Regions from separate parts of the Homo sapiens genome. Here regions 2 and 3 are each linked to region 1. Evidence: promoter capture Hi-C in human tissues and cell types (Jung and others, 2019). All regions are on one chromosome and are shown on one strand. Each heading gives the region's core, a stretch centred on a gene start or on the middle of the fragment in contact. The rest is flanking DNA. Distances are from core to core; before and after follow the strand shown. Region 1 holds the start of CAMSAP3 (calmodulin regulated spectrin associated protein family member 3). Region 2 overlaps ARHGEF18 (Rho/Rac guanine nucleotide exchange factor 18). Region 3 holds the start of CD209 (CD209 molecule).

Evidence for each region. Contacts are between HindIII fragments. The study calls those that stand out against the background at their distance.
Region 2: a contact is called between a fragment that was not itself captured here and the fragment with the promoter of CAMSAP3 in region 1, in 4 of the 25 tissues and cell types used here (dorsolateral prefrontal cortex, liver, mesendoderm cells and 1 more).
Region 3: the fragment with the promoter of CD209 here is called in contact with the fragment with the promoter of CAMSAP3 in region 1 in 4 of the 25 tissues and cell types used here (liver, mesenchymal stem cells, psoas muscle and 1 more).

What each region holds. Positions count from the first base shown.
Region 1 is chr19:7,594,427-7,597,180 of GRCh38, forward strand. CAMSAP3 (calmodulin regulated spectrin associated protein family member 3) reads left to right here and starts at 1,437. Exons shown (of 17, transcript NM_020902.2): 1 at 1,437-1,724. The coding sequence starts at 1,577. RefSeq lists a silencer at 1,137-1,576 and an enhancer at 2,416-2,754. The HindIII fragment of the contact is 16,585 bases long and covers 1-2,754 here.
Region 2 is chr19:7,414,524-7,417,277 of GRCh38, forward strand. All of the region lies in intron 10 of ARHGEF18 (Rho/Rac guanine nucleotide exchange factor 18), which reads left to right. Among named protein-coding and RNA genes, the nearest start is that of ARHGEF18-AS1, 21 kb to the left of the region's middle. The HindIII fragment of the contact is 7,415 bases long and covers 1-2,754 here.
Region 3 is chr19:7,746,185-7,748,938 of GRCh38, forward strand. CD209 (CD209 molecule) reads right to left here and starts at 1,350. Exons shown (of 7, transcript NM_021155.4): 1 at 1,282-1,350; 2 at 1,122-1,181; 3 at 276-347. The coding sequence starts at 1,327. RefSeq lists promoters at 1,228-2,655, 1,300-2,368, 1,327-1,564, 1,328-2,435, 1,328-1,834 and 7 more, cis regulatory regions at 1,382-1,387, 1,401-1,406, 1,424-1,429, 1,430-1,440, 1,435 and 8 more, an enhancer at 2,418-2,754 and a silencer at 2,699-2,754. The HindIII fragment of the contact is 15,961 bases long and covers 1-2,754 here.

The sequences.
Region 1 (2,754 bases), core at 187-2,686:
GACACTTGCAAATACACCCAGTACAGCTACGCAAGGACACTCATAGACACAAATAGTCACACTCTTGCAGAAATATACACACTTTTTTTTTTTTTTTGAGACAGGGTCTCACTCTGTTGGCCAAGCTGGAGTGCAGTGGCACTATCTCAGCTTCTGCCTCCCTGGTTCAAGCGATTCTCCCGCCTCAGCCTCCCGAGTACTTGGGATTACAGGCATGCACCATTATGCCCGGCTAATTTTTAAAAATTTTATTTTTAGTAGAGACGGGGTTTTGCTATGTTGGCCAGGCTACTCTTGAACTCCTGGCCTCAAGTGATCTGCCCGCCTTGGCCTCCCAAAGTGCTGGGATTACACTCGTGGCCACCGCTCTCGGCCTGAAATACACACACTCTCAATGTCTCTCCATACTCCTGCATTGACAGAGGCATCAATAACAGCCTCATACAACACACCAGTACGTTCAGATGCACAGAGATAGACATACTCACAGCACTCCAAAAACACACACACAGCCGGGCACGGTGGCTGCCGCCTGTAATCCCAGCACTTTGGGAGGCTGAGGCGGGTGATCACCTGAGGTCAGGAGTTTGAGACTAGCCTGGCTAACATGGTGAAACCCCAACTCTACTAAAAATACAAAAATTAGCCGGGAGTGGTGGCGCAACCCCGTAATCCCAGCTACTCGGGAGGCTGAGGCAGGAGAATCGCTTGAGCCTGGGAGGCGGAGGTTGCAGTGAGTCGAGATCGCGCCACTGCACTCCAGCCTGGGAGACAGAGTGAGTGAGACCCTGTCTCAAAAACAAAAACAAAAACAAAAACAAAAAACAGACACACACTCATCACTTCCATCCATCCTCAGGATACAGACATCTATATAATACATATCCTTGTACACACAACAAATTAAACACACACTTACACGTGCCCAGATACATACCCCACACACACACACCCCTAGACACCCCCCAATACACTTGGTCACCACCCAAATGTATTCAGAGATACACAGATACGAAGACACTCATATTCTTGTGCCTTCACTAACATAATCAGAAACAGGTGCACCCAACCACTCTCTGCCTGAGGGCCGGCGTTTATTGCAAGCACTTGCAGGAGCTCCTACGCCTAAGGGTAGACACTGGGGCTGGCACACACAGAGGGTCCCTAATCCTTTCCAGTAAGCTAGGCGCGCGCGCACACACTCACACACGCGCGCGCGCACACATACACACTCAGTCCTCCGCAAGCTCCCTCCACCATCGCCGCAGTCCAGGCCGCCCCCCTCCGCCCCGCCCCTGCTGCTCCGTGCACACTGCAGTGAGGGGCCCGGGCGGGGCGCAGGGGCGCGCCAGGGTCCGGGTCCGGGTTCGGGGGCGGGGCGCACCTGGGCTCCTCCCCGGGGCGGGCCCGACGCAGCGTCGCCAGCGCAAGCGGCCGCACCTGGCTCAGCAGCGGCGGCGGCGGCGGCGGCGGCAGCGGCGGTAGCAGCAGCGGGCCCGGCTGGGGCGCGAGCGCGGCGCAGCCCAGCCCAGCCCAGTCCGAGCGCGGACCCGGCGCCCGCAGCCCCGGCGCCGCCATGGTGGAGGCGGCGCCCCCCGGGCCCGGGCCGCTGCGGAGGACCTTTCTAGTGCCCGAGATCAAGTCGCTGGACCAGTACGATTTCTCGCGGGCCAAGGCGGCGGCCAGCCTGGCGTGGGTGCTGCGGGCCGCGTTCGGGGGCGCAGGTACCGGGGCTCGGGGGACCGGGGTCGGGGGCGGCGGGCCGGGCGCGGCAGGTGCTGGGGGGGGGCGGGGCGCCGGGCCGGGAAGGCAGGGGGCCGTGGGAACAATAGCGCCGGCCGCCGGGGGTCCCCGGGCTCGGGCCCCTGCCGCGCCGGGGCCTCCGAGCTTCCTGCTCGGCCCGGGCGGTGGACTTTGCCCCGCCGGCTGCGGGAGCGCGGTGGGGGTGGGGCCCGCGGCCCAGCTCCGCGCGGGGGTCCCCGGCGTCCAAGCCTCCAGGTGAGCCGGGCGGGGTCTGCGGGCCGGGTGGGGTCTCCCCGTGCGGACCTCTCGTTCCCGCCTCCCGCACCCCCAAGGCCTTCCCTTGCACGCCTTCTTCTCTTTTACACACATCACGCCCCTGCGAGGATCTCCTCTCGGTCTCTTCCCCCGCCACACACCCTGGAGACCCAGACCCCGACCTCGCTGGGGGGTCTCGAGCGCTCCGGTCTCCACCACCGCACGACCCCCAGGCCCCAACACACACCCCGCGTCGGCCCTGGCCGCGCTGCGGGCGGCGACCGGGGAGCTCTGGGAACCCCCTTTCGCCTCCATAGCCCCCTCCAGCGCCTGGCAGCTGCGACTTATGGCCCCATTTTACTGGGGAGGTTGGCGAGCCCAGCTGAAGGGAAATGGGTAGTACAAGATCGCCTGGGGTGGGCCCCCCGCTCCTCCCGGCTGCGGGGCCTTCTCCCATTAGAGCAGATCCTTCACTCCCTCCCCCAGGCCCGCTTGCCTGAGAGCCCGAGCCACCCTAATGGGGAGGATGCCGTAATCCCGGGTCCCCGGGATTAGAGGCCCTGGAAACACTCAGTCTCGGCTTTGGGCAGCTTCACAACCCCAGGCCAGAGCTAGGAGTCAGGGCCTGGCCAGAGAAGACAGGGGTTAATTAAGGTCTGGGCTTTCCAGCGGGGAGCTGTGGGGGTACATCCTTTTCTCCCACTGGTTCTGCCCACTGGTGTTGGCACAGCCCATCCCCCCTCTCCCTGGCCTTCC
Region 2 (2,754 bases), core at 185-2,684, 180 kb before region 1:
AATTAGGCTGGGCACGGTGGTTCACGCCTATAATTCCAGCACTTTGGGAAGCTGAGGCAGGCGGATCACAAGGTCAAGAGATCGAGACCATCCTGGCCAAGATGGTGAAACCCCGTCTCTACTAAAAATACAAAAATTAGCTGGGCATGGTGGTGCGTGCCTGTGATCCCAGCTACTCTGGAGGCTGAGGCAGGAGAATCGCTTGAACCCGGGAGGTGGAGGTTGCAGTGAGCTGAGATCGCGCCATTGCACTCCAGCCTGGCGACTGCGAGACTCTGTCTCAAAAAAAAAGAAAAAAACAAAAACAATAAAAATACAAAAATTAGCCGGGTGTGGGGGCAGGTGCCTGTAATCCCAGCTACTCGGGTGGCTGAGGCAAGAGGATCATTTGAACCCAGAAAGCAGAGGTTGCAGTGACCCGAGATCGTGCCACTGCACTCCAGCCTGGGCCACAGAGTAAAATTCCATCTCAAAATAAATAAGTAAATAAATAAATAAAATAATACTAGTTTGAGCCAGTGATTATGATACAACTGTGTTCTCCCCTCCCCCAAAATAAAAACCACGCATGCCATTCAGCTATTCTGCTCCCAAGACCGCTTTCAACAAAGCTGGACCCAAGGACCTTAGTTCCATCCCTTATCCCATTGAATCTCCAGGCAGCTCCATTAAACCACCTCCCTAACCCTGCTCCTGGGCACTCCTGGGTTCTCCCGGGCTTCAGGTAGCACCTTAGGCCCAAATGTCCACCCCTTGCTTAGAGCGCCCTCCTGAGCGCAACACCCCGTGCCAGCGGCTGCCTGCTGCCGAGCCCGCCACTCTGCCCCCCACTTCATGGCCCCTGCACCGCCCCTCTCTGCCACTCTCCACCCTGCCCTCGAGGTCCCGGTCCCCCTGCGTCCACCAGCAACCCCTTCCAGTGTGCCCTGCTCCCCACGCTGCAGCCATCGTTTCGAGAAGCAGAGCTCATCCAATCCTCCACATAAACCTTTCCGTGGCTTCAGGTTCAATGACAAAGTGACTCTCCAAGGGCCCCCAAGGCCCATGGCAGAACCTCCTGGAATAAGACATTCCCTCCACCCTGCCCTTTCCTTTCTCTGACCGGTCCAGACCAGGTCCCTCCCAGACGTCCTCTCCCTCCCTCCCTGAAGCGCGTATTTGTTAAGCACCCACCCACCACATGACAGGCCTCGTGCCAGCCATGACCACAGAGACCCGCAGCTCCTGGAGTTTCCCTTCTAAATAAACAAAACTACAGTTGAGCCTTGGGATTTGCAGAGTCAGTGTTTACCCTTTTGAAGATATACCCAGGAGTAGAATTGCTGGATCGGATGGTAATTCTTTGTTTAATTTTCACCCGCTTGCTAAAATTTCTCTGTAACCGCAACATGAATCCATTCATATTGGTGCAGAGTGGAGAAAACTTGGAGTTCCCACACAGGTTCCCAGCTGAGGCTGAGCGAGGCGACACTCCACCTTCTCGTTCAGCCTCTCACACTGTAAACACATGCCCTGTTGAAGGTCTATGGAGTACCACGGTTTTCGCATTTGTGTGCTTCTTGTTGGTGATGTTAATGTTGAAAATGACCCCTAGCTGGGCGAGGAGGCTCATGCCTATAATCTCAGCACACTGGGAGGCCTAGGCAGGAGGATTAGTTGAGCCCAGGAGTTTGAGACCAGCCAGCCTGGGCAACATAGCAAGACCCTATCTCTAAAAAAAAAATTTTTTTTAATTAGCCAGGCATGGTGTCACACACCTGTGGTCTCAGCTACTTGGGAGGCTGAGGCAGGAGGATCCCTTGATTCCTTGAGCCCAGGAGTTCGAGGCTGCAGTGAGCTACGATCACGCCACTGCAGTCCAGCCTGGGCAGCAGAGACCTCATCTCTAAAATAACAATATAATAATAAATTTTTTAGAAAATAAAATGACCTTCAAACGTAGTGCTGCAGTGCCAGCAAGTGCCCCTGAGTGCAAGGAGGCTGTGATGTGCCTCACGGAGAAAATTCGTGTGTGTGTGTGTGTGTGTGTGTGTGTGTGTGTGTGTGTGTGTGTGTTTTGGGGTGGATGATATTTTATTTGGGTTTTTTTTTTTTTTTGAGACAGAGTCTTGCTCTGCTGCCAAGCCTGGAGTGCAGTGGCACGATCTTGGCTCACTGCAAACTCTGCCTCCCGGGTTCACACCATTCTCCTGCCTCAGCCTCCCGAGTAGCTGGGACTACAGGTGCCCGCCACCACGCCCAGCTAATTTTTTGTATTTTTAAGTGGAAACGGGGTTTCACTGTGTTAGCCAGGATGGTCTCGATCTCCTGACCTCATGATCCGCTCGCCTCAGCCTCCCAAAGTGTTGGGATTACAGGCGTGAGCCACCATGCCCGGCTGTTTTTGTTGTTGTTGTTGTTTTTTGAGATGGAGTCTCACACTGTTGCCCATTCTGGAGTGCAGTGGCACCATCTCGGCTCACTGCAGCCTTTGCCTCCCAGGTTCAAGCGATTCTCCTGCCTCAGCCTCCCAAGTAGCTGGGATTACAGGCACGCACCACCACACCTGCGTAATTTTTGTATTTGTGGTAGAGACAGGGTTTCACTATGTTGGTCAGGCTGGTCTCGAACTCCTGACCTCAAGTGATCCACCCGCCTCAGCCACCACCCAAAGTGCTGGGATTACAGGTGTGAACCACTACACCTGGCCTGGATGATATTTTAAACAAGGTGGCCTCTGGGGCTTCACTGAGAAGGTGGGCAGGTCAGACAAGA
Region 3 (2,754 bases), core at 100-2,599, 150 kb after region 1:
GTCTTGGTTAATCCCCTTTGAAGATGAAGAAAACTGACACCTGGAGAAGGCAGCACAGAAGGCCAAGGAGAGCCAGATTCTTCCTGTCCTCCTCCTCCTCCCTCTCCTGTCCTGCCCTAGAGTGGGGAGGGGCTGTGGGAGAGGCCCCTACAGACCCCCAGGGACAACATCTTGGCTCTCAGTCCCACCTCCCTCCCAGATCTGGCAGCCCCAGGCTGTGTCCACAGCCAAAAGCCAGGCGTGGGGACCCCAGACCCTCAGAACCTGCCCCTGACCTTGGACAAGGAGCCCAGCCAAGAGCGTGAAGGAGAGGAGTTGCAGCACCAGGGGACCATGGCCAAGACACCCTGAGAGAGGATACATGCGTCAGCCTGCCAGTGTCCCCACCGGAGCCTGGCCCAGGGAGAGCCTGGTCTAAATCCCTCAGCACCCCAGGACCCAGGAACCCCAGCCCCAGCCCCCTCCACTCCAACACCTGGGAATCCAGGCCCTAGCTCTAACCTCCCCAGGACCCAGGGACCCCGTCCCCAGCCTCCCCTTCCCCAGGTCCCAGGAACCAGGTACCTGCTTCCACCTCCCCAGGACCCAGGAATCCAGGCCCCAGCCTCTACATTCCCAGGTCCCTGGAACCCAGGCCCCCAGCTCCCACCTCCCCAGGACCCAGGGACCCAGGACCCAGCCTCCCCTTCCCCAGGTCCCAGTAACCCAGGTACCTGCTCCCACCTCCCCAAGACCCAAGAATCTGGGTCCCAGCCCCTACATCCCCAGGTCCCAGGAACCCAGGCCCAAGTCCCCACCTCCCCATGACCCAGGAGTCCAGGCCCAGGCCCCCACCTCTCCAGGACCCAGGAGTCTAGGCCCCTGACCCCACCTCCCCAGGACCCAGGAACCCAGGCTTCAACTTCTACCTCCCCAGAACCCAGGAGTCTTGGCCCCAGCCTCCACCTTCCCAGGAACCAGGAATTCAGGCCCCAAACTCAACCTCCTCAGGTCCCAGGAGTCCAGGCCCCTAGCCCCACATCCCCAGGACCCAAGAGTCCAGGCCCCAGCGTCCAGCTCCTCAGGACCCAGGAGTCCAGGAGTCTCTCGTCTCTCCTCCCAAACTGCTAAGTCCTCTCTACCTGCTAAGCTCTTGTATCCTCGAGTCTGTCGGAATCCAAGGCCTCTCAGCTGTTCCTCCTCTGAATGGATAGACGTGAAATCAGAGCCTGGGCAGGCTGAGGCCATGGCTGGCCATCCCTTCCCCCTTCCCAGAATCCCAGCGTCCCAACCCAGCCTCACCCAGGAGGCCCAGCTGCTGCAGTCTTGGTTCCTTGGAGTCACTCATGTCACCCCACTCTCCCCCAGTGTCCAGAACTCCTGGGGGCCACAGCTTTTATTTCCCACCCTGTGATCTTTACTTCCTAAATCTAGTCTCCCACAGAAAGAGAAACAGGAAGTTGGGTAGGGATCTGTCATCCAAAAGACTAGTGGAAAGCATCAGAGCATGAGATGGGCCGGATCTTTCAAGAATTTCAGGGAGGCAGTGGGGGATGGTCTGGGGTTGACAGGGAGAAGGACTCATCCACTCATGGATGGCTGAGCAGTGGGATGCTTTTAATGAAATCTGATAAATTGTAAGAGAAAGCTACTGTGTTACACCCCCTCCACTAGGGCAAGGGTAGGCAGGTAGCACCCCCAGTTCCTGGAAGCACTGTCCCCTGTGACCTCCTGGCTTTCCTGCTTTGAGCTGCTGCTGTCCTCATTTTTGGGAATTCCTGCTGACTTTGGGAGTTGGGGCAGAATCATAATTGCTTGTTTATTTAATGCCTAGGGTAGTCAGGTACTTTTCCAACAGCTTTATAAACTCATTCATTTAATGTTCCTACCCTTCAGTAGATCATATGACCTCCATTATACAGATGAGGAAACTGAGGAGGCACTGCAAGTTTAGCTAACTGGCCCAAGGTCACACAGCTGGTAGATGGTGGGGCTGAGACTTGAACCCAGTCTGCCTCCACAGTGCATGCTGTTAACCAAAGAGTGAAATAGTATCAAAGAGGAAAGAAAAGATCCATAGCAGCTTTATTTAGAATGATCTGAAATTGGAACAACCCCGTGTCCACCAGCAGGTGAATGATAAAAAATATAATGGCATATTCAAAGATTGGAATACTATACAGCAATGAAAAAGCAAAGTACTAGTACATTTAATAACATAGATAAATCTCACAAAACAGTAAAAGGACCCAGACAGAGTGAGTACACACTGTAAGATTTGATTTTGTGTGAATTTTGAGAACAGGCAGAACTAACCTTTGAAGGAGACTCAGAATGGGAATTATCAGGAAGGAGCAGGTGGAGATTGACAACGGGGTTTCTGTATGCTGGAAATGTTCTATATTTTGATCATAGAGATGTGCATTTACCACATGTGTGTTAAATCTCAGTTTAAAGATGGAAAATACATACATGTATCATAATCAAATAGTGGTTTTCGACCTGATCTTTACTTTGTATTCTTTTTTAAAATGTTTTAATTTTAGAATAATTTTGGGTTTATAGCAAAGTTGCAAATGTAGGAAAGAGATTTCCCATATGTAAATCCCTCACCTAGGGATCCCTAATGTGAACCCAGTTTCTCCTAATGGTAACATTTCACATGGTAATGAGGTAGGAAACTGGAAGAACTTGTTTTCTGGCCACAACCCTGCAGACCCATACAGAATCTGGTCCAGATGAGATGATGTGAAGAAACCAGCAGGAACCAGCAGA